Regions from separate parts of the Homo sapiens genome. Here all the other regions are linked to region 2. The links are contacts of gene promoters, found by promoter capture Hi-C in blood cells and fetal thymus (Javierre and others, 2016). All regions are on one chromosome and are shown on one strand. Each heading gives the region's core, a stretch centred on a gene start or on the middle of the fragment in contact. The rest is flanking DNA. Distances are from core to core; before and after follow the strand shown.

Evidence for each region. Contacts are between HindIII fragments. The CHiCAGO score rates a contact against its expected background, and 5 or more counts as called.
Region 1: a contact is called between a fragment that was not itself captured here and the fragment with the promoter of LINC01594 in region 2, in 2 of 17 cell types (M1 macrophages and M0 macrophages). The highest score is 6.4, in M1 macrophages.
Region 3: a contact is called between a fragment that was not itself captured here and the fragment with the promoter of LINC01594 in region 2, in 1 of 17 cell types (M1 macrophages). The highest score is 6.2, in M1 macrophages.
Region 4: a fragment that was not itself captured here is called in contact with the fragment with the promoter of LINC01594 in region 2 in 3 of 17 cell types (M0 macrophages, M1 macrophages and M2 macrophages); the score reaches 6.5 in M0 macrophages.

The regions. Positions count from the first base shown.
Region 1 is chr2:108,407,209-108,409,908 of GRCh38, reverse strand. No RefSeq gene overlaps it. Among named protein-coding and RNA genes, the nearest start is that of SULT1C4, 31 kb to the right of the region's middle. The HindIII fragment of the contact is 193 bases long and covers 1,170-1,362 here.
Region 2 is chr2:108,216,489-108,219,188 of GRCh38, reverse strand. LINC01594 (long intergenic non-protein coding RNA 1594) reads left to right here and starts at 1,348. Exons shown (of 5, transcript NR_131251.1): 1 at 1,348-1,494. The HindIII fragment of the contact is 2,331 bases long and covers 1-1,901 here.
Region 3 is chr2:108,362,560-108,365,259 of GRCh38, reverse strand. No RefSeq gene overlaps it. Among named protein-coding and RNA genes, the nearest start is that of SULT1C4, 14 kb to the left of the region's middle. RefSeq lists an enhancer at 1-872. The HindIII fragment of the contact is 261 bases long and covers 1,169-1,429 here.
Region 4 is chr2:108,470,594-108,473,293 of GRCh38, reverse strand. GCC2 (GRIP and coiled-coil domain containing 2) reads right to left here. Exons shown (of 23, transcript NM_181453.4): 6 at 1,178-2,700; 7 at 395-467. Among named protein-coding and RNA genes, the nearest start is that of GCC2, 23 kb to the right of the region's middle. The HindIII fragment of the contact is 8,054 bases long and covers 1-2,700 here.

The DNA of each region.
Region 1 (2,700 bases), core at 17-2,516, 190 kb before region 2:
CAAGGCAAGCTGGCTTCCTGAGAGAAAGACTGAGTAGAGGCTGTGTGCCTCAACAGAACCTAGGCCTGCTTCAGATGTCAAAGAGGGAATAGCAATGAAGACAATTGAAGTGGGCTGCCTGACTGGAGACCTCATCATTGCAAATGTATCCATTTCAGAGAAGGGGGCCTGTGTTTGAGATGCCATACTCAGAGAGAGAAGGCAGTTCACAAGGGGTGGAATGTATTCAGACCCTGGAAACCCGTGGTGGTATGGTGGTAAACTAACTCATTGATTGCTCCTCCTTGTTGTGGTCACTTGTCAGCTTCTGGGTCACTTATGTTTCACCTCACATCTTGACATGTTTAGGTCCTCAGTCTTCGTTGCCACTCCTTTCAATTTTTGGTGATTTTAATAACCACACGGACTACCTCTTCTTTTCTTCAGTGCTCCTGTGTTTCACTCTCCCCCAGTTGATTGCTTTAGTGATCATGCCTTAGGACTTGTCTTTACCAATAATCGGGTACTTTTCATAATCACAATTACAGGCATCTCACCAACTAACCACCATCTTCCATCTTTCCCACGCACTCCTTCCAGCACTCTGACCCTAACAATGGTGCTACCTGTGCCAGACCATCTGCATCTGTGTCTGCATATCCTGCCTTCCTCCTGTTACTAGGGATGAACTGTTTGAACTCCTGGGTTCTGTCTGTTCCCACCCCACACTCATCATCAGTTTTCCTTTCTTTTCTATAATGTCTCACATTTTATACTTTGCTGCCACATTCTACCTCAGATACTGCCCATTTTTTCCCTCTGTAATAGTAAACTCCTAAAATAGTTGACTATATTTACCATCTCCAGATAATTTCCTTGTCTCTCTTGCAGTCTCTGCAGGCAGAACTTTTGTGATCAATCTACCAAAATAGGTCTTGTCAAGGTTAAAAATGGCCTCCACTTTAGTAAATTCAGTGTTGTTTGTCAGTAATGCCAATAACTACCCTCTACCTCCAAACATAAATTTTTTTTTCCGTGGAAGAAGGAGAGGGAAAAGCAGAACTCTAAATTTGGCTAACAACTTCTGAAATAACTTAGTAATAACTAATTTAACCACATTTACCAGGACACTAATTTTGTTTTATTTTCTGGTTTGGAAAACATGTAGGCTGATTGTCAGAAATTAAGCTTAGTTATAGGAAAATTTAAAAAGTTACCTTTTTGTGTATCTTAGGTTTATTATCTATGAAATTCACTACTGCAAAAAGAACAGGAGGCATTTTAATGTGGAGAGCTGTTAAGATCTATAAAGGGGAGAGGGAAGTGGTGGGAGCATTTTAGTGTGAAGAATGAAGTGAGAAAAATGGGGGAGACCAGAAAGCTTTGAGTCCCGTATGAGTCAAAAGAAGAAACAAGAATTCCGTCTCAAAGGACAAAATTTCAAAGACTATTGAACTTAACTAATGACAGCTCTAAACCACTGACCAGTCATGAAATAAGAGGATAAAAATATTCACCTAGGCCGGGTGCTGTGGCTCACACTAGTAATCCCAGCACTTTGGGAAACTGAGGTGGGGGATTACTTGAGGTCAGGAGTTCGAGACCAGCCTGCCCAACATGGTGAAACCCATCTCTAGTAAAAATACAAAAATTAGCTGGGCATGGTGGTGTGTGTTTGTAATCCCAGCTACTCAGGAGGCTGAGGCAGGAGGATCACTTGAACTTGGGAGGCAGAGGTTGCAGTGAGCCGAGATCGCACCATTGCACTCCAGCCTGAGTGACAGAGTGAGGCTTCATGTAAAAAAAGTGGAAATAGGTTTAATGTCTTTTGAAACAGTTGTGCAATACCTAGCAATGCTGAAGGTATATAGCATGATGATCCAGGAATTCCCCTCTTAGGTTTATACCCCAGGGAAACTGTGTGTGTGCCCAAGGAGACATAAGAGGAATGTCTAAAGTGGCTTTGGTGGTAATAGCAAACTGTTGGAAATAACCTAAACATCTAGCAATAGGAGAATAGATATGTAAATAATGTGGTATGTGATAAAACAAAGAAATAAGTTGTGTTACTATATTCATATGCTGGAATGCTACACAGCGGTGAAAAGAAATAAGCCAGGACTATATTTGAACATGGATGAATATTACAAACTAGTGTTGAACAGAAAAAGAAAATTGTTGAAGAATGCATATAGTAGGATAATTTAAATCTGCAAGCATGTGCACTAAAAATATAAACAAATGCATGGGAATGAGAACCACCAAACTCAGAGAGAAGGAGATAACTCAGGAAGGAGGGGAAGGGATGCTGCTGGGAGTGGTACCAAGGAACTTCCCCTGGAATGCTTTATGCTTTATTAAAGTTTGTGGTAGGTACTTAGATGCTTTATTTAAGTCCGTGGTAGGTGCATGAGCATTTGCTCTATTATATTTCATATCATTTATATATTTCATATAAAAATGCTCAGACTACTAAGTATTCTTCATGTCTGATACTCATTTTGTCTTGTTTGAGTCTTTTACTGATTGGAATAATTAATTTTTTTCCACTTAGATGTGAGAATAACCTGGGACAGTTGTAGTGGGACACCAGCCGACCGTTGATTCATATTGCATAAGCCAGAATGTCTGGGGACCAAGGAAATGTGTCTAGAAATTTTGTGCTCACTAGACAATGATGGTAAATGTGTAATATGGAGATTTCTTATCCAAGTAAGAACA
Region 2 (2,700 bases), core at 99-2,598:
TTCTTGGTTATTTTATTGTTGTCAGTACTGACAACACAATTTACAAAACTTTAAAAATTACATTTAAATAGAAACTTCATTGTTACTTTAAAGACTCATATAATAAATGATAGTCTTCCAGTTTCCATTCAATTCATCAGACGTTTATTAAGCAGCTACCTTGGACCAGATACTGTTCCAAGTTTTTCAGTTTCATCAGTGTTTTACATAGATAGATAGATAGATAGATAGATAGATAGATAGATAGATAGATAGATATAAAATCTGTGCCAATGAGCTGTAATTTTAGCCATAATCTTGGACAAGAAAGTAGTGAATTTATTTCCTTTAAGGACGTGTATTTGTAACTCATTTTTATGCTGTGTCTTTGTGCTGATGATATTTTGCAGTTGTCACAGTGACTTATGAAAAATTCTAAGGGGGAATCAGGCTAGCTCCCTAAGAATCACACTTTTAAACTCATGGTTTTAAAAAGTCTGGCCATTAAGTGCAATGATTAAGGTTAAATTTGTGTACCTTTTACCCAAGAGGTCAAAAGTCAGATTGTCTTCAGAGTCTCACTAATGAACAGCACATTCAATTCATTATGGTGAAAGATGCTTGAATTTTGACCACCACCCCGTCTTTAGACTATTTAGTGTCACTATAAAGGAATAGCTGAGGCTGGGAAATTTATTTTAAAAAATGTTTATTTGGCTCATAATTCTGATGGCTGGAAGACTGGACACGTGGTGAGGGACTCAGACTGCTTCCACTTCTGGCAGAAGGTGAAGGGGGTCAGTGCATCCAAAAATCACATGGTAAGACAGGAAGCAAGAGAAGGGAGTTTCCAGGCTCTTTTTAACAACCAACTCTTGTGGGAAGGAATAGAGCAAGAGCTCACTCACTCCTGGGGAGGGTATTAATCTATTCCTGAGGGGTCTCCCACTATCACCCAAACACCTTCTGTTAGACCCCACCTCCAACATTTAGAATCAGATCTCAACATAAGGTTTGGAAGGGACAAATGTCCAAACCATGGCAATCTCTTTCCCAGGGAATACTCATCCTGTATATTTTTCCATGTGAGATCCAACCATAACCTAGGCATCTCTTGTGAGAAAACAATGCTGGTAGAATTCTGAGATTCAGTCCACTGGATACCTGTGGGAGGCCTTGAATGTTGCCTTTGTAAATCATCTCTAGTTCTGGCCATGTGATTGTTGGGCAATGGGCAGAGGCTGAGAATGGTCTTCCTGGAGCCTCCAATTTAGTGAGCAAAGTGTAGAGTATGTTAGAAGAGATGATACTTGTGATGGAAATGATTAGGGCAGAATAAGGGGAACCAGGAAGTGCTGGATTGTAAGTAGAATGATCAGGGAAGACATGACTGAAATGATGCTTTCTGGGTAAAGATTGAAGGATATGAGGAGAGGGTCATGTAGCTGTTTGATCGAAGAGCATTCTTGGCAGAGGAAATGCCAGGCCAAAGTCTCTATGGCAGGACTACACTAGGTGAGTTCAAGGAAGAGTGGGGAAGTCACTAGGTCTGAAGAGAAGTGAGTGTGCAAAGGTTAGAAGGTGGTTAGAAAGGGACCTGGGGACAGATGGTGTAGGACAGGAGACCGTGATACAATTCAGCTTAGACTGAATGGGTTGGGGCACTGCTGCAGCATTTTGATCAGCACAGTGATGTGATCCATTTAGGATCATATGGTGACTGGGTAATTATGACATAGAAGGAGGGATATTCATTAGGTTGTGATTGCAAGTCTTCAGGGAAGACACGCCAGTGACTCAGAGGAGGTTGGTCACAGTAATGTTGATAAGAAGAGGTCATGTTCTGGATATAGTTTGAAGTCAGAGCCAAATGATGTATGGATTGGATGTAGTGTGCAAGAGAGAGAGAAATAGAATAAGCTTTGGCTGAGCAACTGAAAAGATGGAGTTGCCTTTTAATTGAGATGAAGAAGACAGTGGGTGAATTAGGTTTGTGGGTTTGACTTTTTCTGTTTGAAATGTATATAAAACAAGGAAGTAGAGATATGAAGTAGGCAGTTGGGCTGACAATTTAGGAATTCAGGGTTGAGATCTGAGGTGGAGATAAAAATTTGGAAGATGGTACCATGTTGCAGAAATTTAAAATCCATGTGAGAGAATGAGATTATCTAAGAAGCGAGCCAGAGAAAGAAGAGATAGAAAGCAGAAGTAACATAAAAGCTGTAATACTATTTAAGCCTTTTTCTCTGTTTTTATGATGTTTCTTTTATAAGGATTATTTTTAAAATTTCTTTGCCACATTATTCTAATGAGTCCACTGTCTAGTTTTACGAAAACACATAATAATGTTCCTCAATATCTATATTTCACTATGCCACTCGACCTACCCAGCATTTAAAGGTGCACTTGAGTGTTTATGAAACGTTCTTTTAATCTCCTGCTATATAAAAAGGAAAAAGTCAAAAATATTAACAGCTGATGGACAAAGAAATAAATTACGTATTTGCATGTGGAAATAATAAAGCAACTTAGAACTAAATCACAAAGTTATCTGGGAAGGACATTGAATGTTTTATTGTAAATCTTTAACATAACTCAAAAATTAGTAGTAGTATTGGAGAACATGCAAACCTCATGTTAGTTTACATTTCAAAATCAATTATTCATGTCAGAAACATGTTCAAATTTCTGTGAAAGTTTAGAAGATATGTATCACAAATA
Region 3 (2,700 bases), core at 50-2,549, 150 kb before region 2:
GAAAAACTAGATTATAAGTGGGAATAAGGAGCAAGGCTAGCAAAGATAACTAGAAATTTGCAGAAAATCTGTAAGTCTAATTTTAATGATTGTATTATGTTGGGAATGGGTGCTCGGTGTCGCAAAAATCAACATTGAGACAAAGGATCTCTCAGCAAGGCTAGTTTACTTTCTGCAGAAAGGGTGCTGTTCTCTGGCAGTCTTGCCATGAGAGCACACATGAACAAAGGAGACGGGGTCATTTATAACCTGACGTGTCCACCCTACTGCTGTGTCTGGTTTCCTTTGGCTGGAACAGGACCTCACATTCTGTACTCCACTTGATTGGCTAGCAACTTAGAACTTCCCAAAACAGGCAAATTGCGGAATGCTGAGAGAGGCAAAAACACTTCCAAATAAGGAAGAGAAATTGGTTATGACCTAATGCTTGCTTGGACCGGTTCAGGCATGCCAGGGCAAATATCTAGGCTAGAATGTGGGAGCTGAGAACACAGAGTATATTGATTTCTTTATTATGGCTAGCAGATGTTTAAGAATATTAGCACAGGACTTTGACTAAATTTTGCTTCTAAGAGAGGTTACTATCCATTCTCAATTAGACTTGGAGGAAAGTACCTTTGAAGAGGAACCTCTACTTATTTCATTTTCTACATATTAGCAAATAGTAAAACAGATCTGAGATTCCCCTTGCTTTTCTTCCTCTGTCCTCTCCTTTAGATTACTGCCATGGTCAAATGAAGGGAAAAGAAGTGATTCATGTTAGAAAAATTGCATATATTGGAAAATAACATTTTAGGGGATGAGAATTTGCAAATCTTTCTTATTAAAAGCAGACTTAAGAGAATTAGATAATGAAGGATAACAGGATTAGGATTCTGAGGTATCCTCTAAGTGAGAACAACTTTTGGTTGTTTTCGGGTGCTTACTTTTTCTCTCTATAGGTTCTTTTATCAGAATCACTAAAGAACTATGAATATGAGAAAAAAATCCAAGAATGTTTCCTATTCAACTAAGTCTTCCTGAAGCTTATTTATTTATATTTTAAATTGATAAGTGGTAGTTATATATATTTTGGGGACATAGCAGTAATCAGACACTCTTGGGTGCCTGAACATTAAAGTTTTTGGGCAGGAAAAAGGCAACAAGGCAGTGCTTAAGACAATAAGCTTTTCAAAGAATTGGAGAAAAACCTTGGAGGAAGGAGAGCCAATGAAAAGACAATTGTTAAGGCACGAGTCAGTGAGGGCCTGGATTTGACTTTTGACAGTGGAATTGAAAGGAAAGAGAGATTCAAAAGACAGGACACAAGAAAAACAGACAGGATTTTATGACTGACTGACTGTGGAAAGAAAAGTAGATGTTGCTAACAGAGCCGGTTTAGAAGCCAGCTTCATGGAAAAAGGAGAAAAGGAGAAGCTAGCACGAAGCTTTGAAAGCCAAGGCAGTGAAAATATCATGAAGACCAAAGCAGAAGTGGTTTTCAGGAAACTGTAGTGAAACACTTTAAAAGCTGCAGGTAGATGATATCAGCAAAATGGCAGAATAGGAGGTCCCAGGCTTCACTACTGCCAACAGAAAGTTCAACTGACAACAAAGAACACCTTGGTAAAAATCCCAAACTTTGGGTATAAGCTGGAGTTTCCTGCATTGTCCACAGAACTGAATAAAAACGACATTAAAGAGATAATAGAAATAGTCTCACATTAACCATGTCACCCTTTCCACTCCCCCAAATTGGCACAGTGCCACACAGAGGGGATTCCCCAGGACCCATGATTTCTACAGTGAGAAGTAGAGCCAGAGGAGGACATCCAACTTCCCTAGTCTTCTGAGATGCTTCCCAGAAAGCCCATTCCAGTTTTACTTCATGGGAAATACAGTGGGAAACAGCGTGGCTAGAACACTTGGGGTGAGGTAGAAACAAAGCAAGGAGGTGGTAACAAAGCAGTATTGGTGGTAACTCTGTGTACCTGTCAGTGGTGGCGCCCAATCAGAGGTACCAGCTAACAGATGTGATGTAATGCTCTACCTAGCTTGAGTCCCTAGATGGTCAGCCTCCATGACTCGCCTTAGACCCTACCCAGGGATTCCACTTAAGGAGGAAGATGATCACTGCAGCAAATTTCAGTAAAGGGTAGGGACTAGTTCTGCCACACCCAGAAGTTCAAACAGCATTTGAAGCATCCTCAAAGCCCATCCCCAAACCCCACCCACAGAGGGGGACAACTGATGCAGCAAACTTTGGCAAAGAGCCAAGGCTAGATCTGCCACACACAGGAGTTTAAACAGTTCTCAGCCCAACCTCAAAGCCCACCCCAAGGACTCATTTAGGCAGGGCAGCAAACCTCAACCATCCATTGCTATTAAGCATAGCAGCTGGTTCCATCCATCCCAATCAGTGACTCCACCTAACCTCAGGGTCCCTCCTGCAACACTATTTAGCTGCTGAACTCAAATATCAGTACCATCTGACCAGGGAATACACCCTGTGGCCCTGCTTGATTAGAAGCCATTGTAGTGCCAATTGACTGGCTCGGCTTGATGGCAGAGCTCAGCCAGTAGTTTTGCCAGATAGCAGAGCCTAGCCACCTGTCCCATTTAAATTCAGAGCAAAAACAGGAGTCCAGCCATCTAGAGAAGCTGAAAGTAAGCTCTGCCTTCCCTGAGTCATTACCAGCTGACTCATCCAGGGATGGGTCC
Region 4 (2,700 bases), core at 37-2,536, 250 kb before region 2:
TTCCTATGCTGTTAGTACTGTATCTTGTCCACACCTCAAACAACAGTGAGATCTCTGAGCACATGGTCTGTACCTCAACCACTTTTCTATCACCAGGGTCTAGAATAGTTGGGCATTTAAATAAAATTTGCTAAATGAATGAAAAATCCAAAATAAATCATGAAGCCATTTATAAATCACACCAATCTTGCTTGGGTTAAACAATAGAAAGTAACACTTTTGAAAGAGAAGGCAAACAGGTGTTAGAGGGGCAAGAATGTGAGCTCGAGGAAAAGACAGCTACGAACTGTGTTTTTAACAACTCATTATTTGGCTACTATATTTCCCAATCTATTCTAACACTAAGAAGAATCTGTCTAATTAATTGTGACAACATCTGCAAAACCATAGTTACCTATTTTTTCTTCCAACTCTTTTACTGAAGACAGAGGATCATTTTTTACAGAAGGTGATTTTGCTAAGGAATCCTAGATTTTACAGGGGAAAAAAAAACACAAAACAAAACAAAAACCAGAATCAGAATTCATTTTCCATAATGAACTGGCCATCATGTTAAGCATAAGAAAATCACTATCAAAGAGAATTCCTACAGAAACCAATTTGGTCAACAGATTTTCCCTTGTTAGACCAGAAAATTAATACTGACCTTACTATGCATATGGCATTTACTATTAAAAAAAAAAAAAGTAGTAACCAAGGCCAAGATAAACAACCTGATACATTAAATACATGTGTAATAAGGAGAAGATTAAATGATTTTTAATCTTTAATTTTTAAAGAAAACCCTAAAATTTTAGCAATACCACCACAGCTCTTACTTAAAAAGTGCTCTTTACAAAAAATAACTAAGCATATCACACGAGAATGAAACTCAAGTTTTTCCATGTTTAGTTGTTTTGCTAGTGACTAATAAACTTCTGATCAAGACATTTAAACCCCTAATCATTTAATCTTCTATAAACTCAAGATTTTAAAAGTATCTAAAACTCCCCAAAAATAAATGTAATAAACTGGACATACAACATGGAAATGTCTAATGCACTTTTCAGAAAGTTGCCACTTGGGCTTAAATGGTAAAAATTTACTTTTGACGTCAAGGTGTAAAAATGTTTAACGTATATATTGTAGAGTTGAACTAAGAATTTATTTGAAACAATAGAATTCAAATGAATGGTACCTTTAATAGTATCAACTCTGCTCTCCTATCTCGTAATTCTTTTTGTTCTAGTAGTGGCTTTAGGTTTTCATGTTCCTTTATAAAACATTTTTCTTTTTCATTATGGATTTCACTTTTGCTACATGTTTGAGATACTTCTTCAACTTGAATTAAAAGATTCTGATTTTCAAGCCTTGTTTTTTCATTAGCATTCTTCATTTCTAGAAGATCAGACTGCAGGGCCTCTTTTTCTGACTGTATTTCTTCTAACTCTTTCCTTAAGAGAACTTTCTCTTGCTCATAGTCTCTCAATAAAGACTTAAGTTCTTCACACTGAACTACACTCTCTTCTTGAAGGCACTTAATCTCTTTTTCTAACTCTAATACTTTTTCATCACGCTGAAAAGCCAGGTTGCATTTTTCCTCATTTATTTTTGCCAAGGATTCACCGACTGCCTGTAGGACATTAACAACATCTTTCTCTTCACTGTCTTCTGAAACTTCTGATCCCATTTCTTTAAGAAAACCATACAACTGAGTTTTAACAAATAACTTCTGAACTTGCTCATTTTCAAGCAGTTTATTTAAATTATCTTGCTCTTCAACCATTAACTGAAGTTTCTTTTCTAATTGAGTAATATGTTCTTTAAGGATAACATCTTCTTTTTGAGACAAAAAAACCTCCAAATCCCTACTCAACTGTTTTTTTTCTGAACTGAGTTTATTGTTTTCCTCATAAAGAGACTTCACTTCAGCTGACAATACTTCTTTGTCTTCAGAGAGAACTTTCATTTGAACCATAAGTTTTTCTAGTTTTTGGTCATTTTGATCCTTTTCTTTTAAAGTCTCCTCTAGTCCTCCTGTTAATTCATTTACCTTTTGTTCTAGTTCACTGTTGTACTGGATTGTTTGCTCTACTTTCTTCCCAAGTTCAAGAATCAATCTTTCTTCCCTTTCACATTTCTTATGGAAATTATCCATTTCTTCATGGGAATTTTTCAGTTTATTTATAAAATCATCTTTTTCCTCAGTAAGAGAATTTATCTTTCCTTCTAATTCTTTTAACATGGTATCTCTTTGACTGAGACTAAGTAAGTATACTCCATTCTTTTCTTGAAGGTTCTTTATGGTATTTTCAAGTTCTGGTACCAATTCTTGTTGAGATAGTAACTTTTCATTTTCTCCCTGGAGGCGATTCACAGTTTCGAGAAGGGCATCTTTTTCAGTAAAAGCAGTTCTGAGCTTCTGCTGCAGTTCATGAACATCAGATGCTTGCTGTTGCTTCATTGATTCGAACTCTTGACTTATTTTTCCAGCAGATTCCCCCAGTTCTGTTTGTAAAATTTCCATAATCTCTCGTAAACTCTCATAATTTAAAATTGCTTCTTGCTTTTCTTGCTGTAGGTTTTCACACTGTTCCTTAAGACCCTGTATTTCAAACATTAATGTTAATTTTTCTTTTTCTGAATCTGACAAAAATGTCTCATTTAGTTCTGATATTTCTTTTTGATGTTGTTCCTTAAGACTCTGTACTTCTCTGTTAT